2 separate regions of the Homo sapiens genome follow, and region 2 is linked to region 1. Evidence: promoter capture Hi-C in human tissues and cell types (Jung and others, 2019). All regions are on one chromosome and are shown on one strand. The core of a region is centred on a gene start or on the middle of the fragment in contact, and the rest is flanking DNA. Distances in the headings are between cores, read along the strand shown.

Region 1 (3,644 bases), core at 1-2,500:
TTCAGCTTACAGAGCACCCTGTATGTGTTTGTCTTAGTTCAGGCCACCATCTCCACCTTACCAGGCATCTAGAACCTTCTCCACACTTTGCCAACAGGGTTCGTTTGCAGAATTGAAATCTTAGTTAAGGTTTGTTGAAGTTTGTTGTTGTTTTTTTTTTTTTTTTACAATTGGCTGTTCCCACCCACATTCCCTTGAGACATAAATAGAAAAAAAAAAAAAAAGAGGTTTCATGAGTAAGACAAGACATTTGAGCTGCATCCACTTGATCCTTGAAAAGGAAATCTAAGAGGTTGTAACTATCACTTTTTCTAGCCTATATAAGGTAGGTCAGTAAGGTAGCAAAAACACATCTGTTGTTTTGCTCCTTCAACTCTTTTTCCTGATTCTTCCTGGGGGGAAACCGAAAACGGTGAGTAACTGGTGGACACATCAGACCCCAGACTCTTTTCTTCACTGCATGCATTCATATTAGGCTCAGGTGCTTAGACTCCTGTTTTCCGGTGGCTCTGACACCTGGAAGGATTTTAATCTCTGGGAGATGGGCTTTTCATCCATCTGCTTCCCACCTTTCAGGACAGGTGCATGCCTTCTTCCACAGAATGTCTGCAAGCAGCCCAAACTGTATCCTTTCCCACGTGGAATTTGCAACATTGCATCTCTCGGGCTGCTGTAGGAAAATGCCAGTGCATGTGTAACATGGTTTACGGCTGCCTATGCAAATGACTGATTATGTCAGTATAATTTTTATAAGAAAACAATTGAATCCTTCTTTGGGTCATTTTTTTTTTCCATTTTTGGCATGTATTCAAAAGAAGGCTCTGAGACAAAAAAGGCTGGGGTGTTTTCCGTATCTGGTTTTAATTTGGATATTCTGTCCCGTCACTTAATACAAAACCATGCTTATCACATTTTAAAAATTCTAGACAGGCCTGGCTCGGTGGCTTGCATCTGTCATCCCAGCACTTTGTGAGGCCAAGGCAGGCAGATCACCTGAGGTCAGGAGCTCAAGACCAGCCTGGCCAACATGGCAAAACCCCGTCTCTACTAAAAACACAAAAATTAGCCAGGCATGGTAGTGCGCACCTGTAATCCCAGCTACTGGGAAGGCTTAGGCAGGAGAATCACTTGAGCCCAGGAGGCGGAGGTTGCGGTGAGCCGAGATCACGCTCTTGCACTCCAGCCTGGGTGACAGAGTGAGACTCCGTCTTAATTTAAAAAAAAAAATAATCTAGACACACATACAGTTTCAGTGGGCCTGGGAAGATGTGTTTCCCCTGGATGTGCACATTCCTGTTTGTGGCTTATCGCCTCTCATTTATTCTGTGTGAGTAGGTAGAAAATGAGCATCACGGACGTGCTCAGTGCTGACGACATTGCAGCAGCGCTCCAGGAATGCCGAGGTAGAGGGGACGTGAGGCGGGGGTGGGATTTCCTCACAGCTTTGCACCTCCAGCGAGTCAACACAAAATCAAAATGTAGGCCAGGCGGCCAGACGCAGTGGCTCACACCTGTAATCCCAGCACTTTGGGAGGCCGAGGCGGGTGGATCACGAGGTCAGGAGTTCGAGACCAGCCTGGCCAAGATGGTGAAACCCCATCTCTACTAAAAATACAAAAAAATTAACCGGGCGTGGTGGTGGGTGCCTGTAATCCCAGCTACTCGGGAGGCTGAGGCAGAGAATTGCTTGAACCCGGGAGGCAGAAGTTGCAGTGAGCTGAGATCATGCCACTGCACTCCAGCCTGGGCAACAGAGCAAGACTCTGTCTACAAAAAAAAAAAAAAAAAGTAGACCAGGCATGGTGGCTCACATCTGTAATCCCAACACTTTTTGGAGGCCAAGGTGAGAGGACTGTTTGAGCCCAGGAGTTTGAGACCAGCCTGGGCAACATAGGAAGACTCCATCTCTACAACATAACAATAAAAATAAAAACTAGCGGGGCATGGTGGCATGTGCCTGTGGTCCCAGCTACTCTGGAAACTAAGGTAGGAGGATCACTGAAGCCCAGGAGGTTGAGGCTGTGGTGAGCTATGATCGCTACACTGCACTCCAGCTTGGACGACAGAGTGAGACTCTGGCTCTAAATAAATAAATAAATAAATAAATAAGAGGTTGGCTGGAAAATTCATGGAATCAGAGAAGAAAACTGCTATTTATTAGATAACTAAAATTATAGAGATCTGGGATCTGAGCACACGATTACACATCTGTAAGACAAAAGAAACCTACTAAACATGAAAGCAAGACATCACTGAAAGGCCAGGTGTCGTGCTCACACCTGTAATCCCAACACTTTGGGAGGCCGAGGCCGGTGCATCACTTGAGGTCAGGAGTTCAAGACCAACCTGGCCAGCATGGCAAAACCCTGTCTCTATTAAAAATACAAAAATGAGCTGGGCATGGGGGTGCACACCTGTAATCTCAGCTACTTGGGAGGCTGAAGCAGGAGAATCAGTTGAACCCGGGAGGCAGAGGTTGCAGTGAGCCGAGATCACGCCACTGCACTCCAGCCTGGTGACAGAGTGAGACTCTGTCTCAAAAAAAAAAAAAAAAAAAAAAAAAAAAAAAAAAGCGCCAAAGGCCATTTAGCCTGTTGAAATCCAGTGATTGCATTTCCCCCTACCAATTAGACCAGGGATGCTGGGGGCTCAGCCACACAGCCTGTAAAGTGGGCCAGGGGGAGGGGGAGGCACAGAAGAGATGAGGAGGGAAAAGGAAAATGGACAAAACCAAGTGGAGGAGGGAAGACTGGGGCGGAGGGGACATGGGATGCCATCACAGAGCCATCAAGTCTTGGCTGTCCCAAAATCTTGGACCAGTTGAGCATCCCCGTAGCTCAGGGATATTGTTGAAGTGTTTTTAATTATCTGTGTTTTTAGTACCTTGGCCCCAACATAGAATGTGATCCAACAAGCGTCAGAATAACCAATTCTCTGTTCTTCAGACCCAGACACTTTTGAACCCCAAAAATTCTTCCAGACATCAGGCCTCTCCAAGATGTCAGCCAATCAGGTGAAGGATGTTTTCCGGTTCATAGACAACGACCAGAGCGGGTACCTGGATGAAGAAGAGCTTAAGTAAGCTTTGTCCTGAGTCTGTCTGGTACCCGGCACTGCTGAGTGGGCCTGGGGTGCAGTGGGGGCCAGGTTGCTCAGTATTTCTTCAATGGCCAGCCTTGGTGTTGGTCATTCGGCCAAGCATCATTAAAGCAAAGGACATGAGTCAGTTGACCGCACATCTACCCATGCAAAGCCCTCAATATGGGCAGAGAAGACTGCAGGTGCAAAGATTCTTTTTTTTTTTTTTTTTTTTGAGACAGGGCCTCACTCTGTTGCCCAGGCTGGAGTGCAGTGGGGTGATCTCAGCTCCCTGCAGCCTCCGCCTTCCAAATTCAAGTGATTCTCATGCCTCAGTCTCCCAAGTGGCTGGGATTACAGGTGCCTGCCACCACATCCAGCTCATTTTCATATTTAGAGTAGAGATGGGGCTTCACTATGTTGCCAGGCTGGTCTCAAACTCCTGACTTCAAGTGATCCTCCTGCCTTGGCCTCCCAAAGTGCTGGGATTACAGGTGTGAGTCACTGTGCCCAGCCACAAAGATTCTTTCATGTAAGGGATTTCCTTTGGCAAATGGACTTTAAAA
Region 2 (3,819 bases), core at 697-3,196, 440 kb after region 1:
GTGCATGTTTGGAAGGGTGGGTTTGTTTTCTAAGTAAAAAAGCAGCTTCATGCGCTTCCCAAAAGGAAATACTCTGTTTGCTTTGAAGACAAAGCCTATAGCAGGGCGTGGTGGCGGGCGCCTGTAGTCCCAGCTACTCGGGAGGCTGAGGCAGGAGAATGGCGTGAACCTGAGAGGCGGAGCTTGCAGTGAGCCGAGACCGCGCCACTGCACTCCAGCCTGGGCGACAGAGCGAGACTCCGTCTCAAAAAAAAAAAAAAAAAGACAAAGCCTAACTCTGGACCTATGGCCGCTGGGGTTGAGGGAGGTTGACACTGCCCCGCTAAAACAGTGGGGACAGCCCTGTGGCCAGATTATTCCCAAAGACACAGAACTGGATCAGACCCACTGAGCGACCAGCAGATGTACAGAGCTGACTCAAAAAGTTAGAGGACTATTTTTTTTTCTTTTTTGAGACGTAGTCTCTCTCCGTCACCAGGCTGGAGGGCAATGGTGCGATCTCAGCTCACTGCAACCTCCGCCTCCGGGGTTCAAGTGATTCTCCTGCCTCAGCCTCCCAAGTAGCTGGGACTACAGGCGCCCGCCACCACACCCGGCTAATTTATGTATTTTAGTAGAGATGGGGTTTCACCATGTTGGCCGGGCTGGTCTCGAACTCCTGACCTCGTGATTTGTCAGCCTCGGCCTCCCAAAGTGCTGGGATTACAGGTGTGAGCCACTGTGCCTGGCCGACTATTTCTTTTTTTTTCCGAGATGGAGTCTCGCTCTGTCACCCAGGTTGGAGTGCAGTGGCACAATCTTGGCTCACTGCAAGCTCTGCCTCCCAGGTTCATGTCATTCTCCCACCTCAGCCTCGCTAGTAGCTGGTACTACAGGCGCCCACCACCACGCCTGGCTAATTTTTTTTTTTTTTGTATCGTTAGTAGAGACGGGGTTTCACCGTGTTAGCCAGGATGGTCTCGATCTCCTGACCTCGTGATATGCCCGCCTCAGCCTCCCAAAGTGCTGGGATTACAGGTGTCAGCCACCGCGCCCGGCCTTGGCCGACTATTTCTTAATGTAACTTAAATTTTGGGCAACACAGTTTTGGCTCAGATATATACTATTTATCATCAATGAATGTAAGTTTTCCAGTTAAAAAAGACAAATTTTGGTTCCGTTAAGGAATTCACTGTTCATAGACATCCATAGAAATCTTCTCTTTTTCTTCCTTTCTTCTCTCACCCTGAGAGGTTCCCTGAACAGAAGCATATCTCCTGTATTTACCAGATTTGAGCTGTTTAACAAGCGGTTACTTTTGCTAATCTTTTGGATTAGTCTTTAGGACTGCCAGAGAAACACGGCCTTAAAAAGGAAATGTTTCTGCCTTAGAACTTCTACTGAGTTGAAAATAGTCATGATCGGTTAAAAAAAATAATGCTGCATAAGCACCGAAACGATTTGTCTCAAAACTGTTCCGGAGGGCTAAAAATAACTTCCAAACAGATAACAAAACCTGGGCAAGGCCCAGTATAAGAAGCCAGACCCAGCCGGGTGTGGCAGCTCACACCTGTAATCCCAGCACTTTGGGAGGCTGAGCCAGGAGGATCTCTTGAGCTCAGGAGTTCGAGACCAGCCTGGGTAACATCATGAAACCCTGTCTCTACAAAAAACACAAAAATTAGCTGGGTGTGGTGCCATGTGCCTGTAATCCCAGCTACTCAAGAGTCTGAGGTAGGAGAACTGCTTGAGCCCAGGAGGCAGAAGTTGCAGTGGGCCAAAATCGACCCTGCCTCAAAAAAATAAATAAAATAAAACAAAATAAGCCAGAGCCAACAGATTCTCAGTTCTTGGCTTAGTTTGCTCTGGAGCCAGGATCAAAGCTGATGCAGAGACTTATTCCTATCGTTGCCAAAGTGCAACAGAGCTTTTTACAGCCTTGGGTAGGAAAGTGCTAAGATGCATGATGTCAACGTCAGGAAGTCTCGCCTGGGCAGTGTTTTCAGTTGCGGGAGGAGGACAATTCTTTTTTTTTGTTGTTTTGTTTTTTGTTTTTTTAGATGGAGTCTCGCTCTGTTGCCAGGCTGGAGTGCAGTGGCATGATCTTGGCTCACTGCACCCTCCACCTCCCAGGTTCAAGCAATTCTCCTGCCTCAGCCTCCTGAGTAGCTGGGATTACAGATGCACACCACCACACCCAGCTAATTTTTGTATTTTTAGTAGAGACGGGGTTTCACTGTGTTGGCCAGGATGGTCTCGATCTCTTGACCTAGTGATCTGCCCACCTCGGCCTCCCAAAGTGCTGGGGTTACCAGCATGAGCCACTGTGCCCGGCCATCAACACACCCACTTAATAGCAAACCCAATTAATGTGGATTTTCCCCATTTGTCATCTTAAGTAACCGGCGTTGTGCCTACACTAGAACTTACAATAAAGCCAGGCGTGGTGGCGCATGCCTGTGGTCCTGGGTACTCGGGAGGCTGAGGCAGGAGGATCCCTTGAGCCTGGGAGGTCGAGGCTTCAGTGAACTGTGATTGCACCACTGCACTCCAGCCTGGGTGCCAGACGACGACCCTGTCTAAAACATAAATGATATTTTATTTATTTTTAATAAATAAAAAATATTTATATGTTTAATAAATAAAATAATGTTTTATATATTAATATATAACATTTTAGACATTAAAATATTTTATTTATTATAAAATATAAATTTATTTTATATAATATATAAAATATAATTATTTTATTGTAAAATTAATAAATAATATTTTATTTATTTTTTAGAGACACGGTCTTGCTCTGCCGCCCAGGCTGGAGTGCAGTGGCGCAATCTCGGCTCACTGCAACCTCCGCCTCCTGGGTTCACGCCATTCTCCTGCCTCAGCCTCCCGAGTAGCTGGGACTACAGGTGCCACCACCATGCCTGGCTAATTTTTTGTATTTTTAGTGGAGACGGGGTTTCACCCTGTTAGCCAGGATGGTCTCCATCTCCTGACCTCGTGATCCGTCCACCTCGGCCTCCCAAAGTGCTGGGATTACAGACATGAGCCGCCACGCCCGGCTAATTTTTATATTTTCCGTGGAGACGGGATCTCGCCATGTTGGAGGGCATCATTATTAATATTCAAGCATGCTTTGTTTATGAAGCAGAAACACCCAAGAGCGTCCAAATCCAGCCAATCTAACCTCTTTCGCTGCATAGTGTGGAAAAGCACGCTGCGCTTCCAAATGGAAGAAAATCGCCTTAAAATGAAGGCGTTGAAGTTCTATTGTGAAGCAGGACGAGGAGTACCCTTCCCAGCTCATCTCCAGGGGACCTCACAGGCCTGGCAGGAAAACAGCCACTTCCTGCCCATGACTGTAAGATGTATTATGTCACTTGGGGAATAAGTTCCAAATCCTATTTTTGGGAAAAGAGGTAACGTTGGAGGCAGTAAGGGGGAGGCCAAGTCCAGCCTGGAGCTGGAAGGAGCCCAGAGACTCCTCAGTAAGCCTGCCGTTCCAGGGAGACAGACGCTTGCAAAACCTGCCTCCATTCCTCGAGCGGTTCCGCTCTCACGTTTTGAGGCCCCCAGTGGCTCTAGAGGGAGAGGGGGCGGTACAGGATGTTCTCATGAATCACCCCTTGTTCGATGAACTGTCCCGTTACCAGAGCCAAGGTCAAGCTTTAAACCTGAGTATGTATTTCCTCTGGAGTGTGCTAAAGGGTAAGTGCACTCTTCTACAAGTCACACGCTCAGGCTGCAGTGTAAGAGAAATTGAAGTTTTTCTTTGTTCTGTTTTTTTGAGACAGGGACTTACTCTGTCACCCAAGCTGGAGTGTAGTGACACGAACG

Evidence for each region. The method cuts DNA at HindIII sites, captures the fragments that hold promoters and counts their contacts. A contact is called where the count stands out against the background at its distance.
Region 2: a contact is called between a fragment that was not itself captured here and the fragment with the promoter of OCM in region 1, in 1 of the 25 tissues and cell types used here (psoas muscle).

What each region holds. Positions count from the first base shown.
Region 1 is chr7:5,879,548-5,883,191 of GRCh38, forward strand. OCM (oncomodulin) reads left to right here and starts at 1,251. Exons shown (of 4, transcript NM_001097622.2): 1 at 1,251-1,403; 2 at 2,946-3,078. The coding sequence starts at 1,343. The HindIII fragment of the contact is 18,194 bases long and covers 1-3,644 here.
Region 2 is chr7:6,314,536-6,318,354 of GRCh38, forward strand. No RefSeq gene overlaps it. Among named protein-coding and RNA genes, the nearest start is that of FAM220A, 33 kb to the right of the region's middle. The HindIII fragment of the contact is 4,452 bases long and covers 1-3,819 here.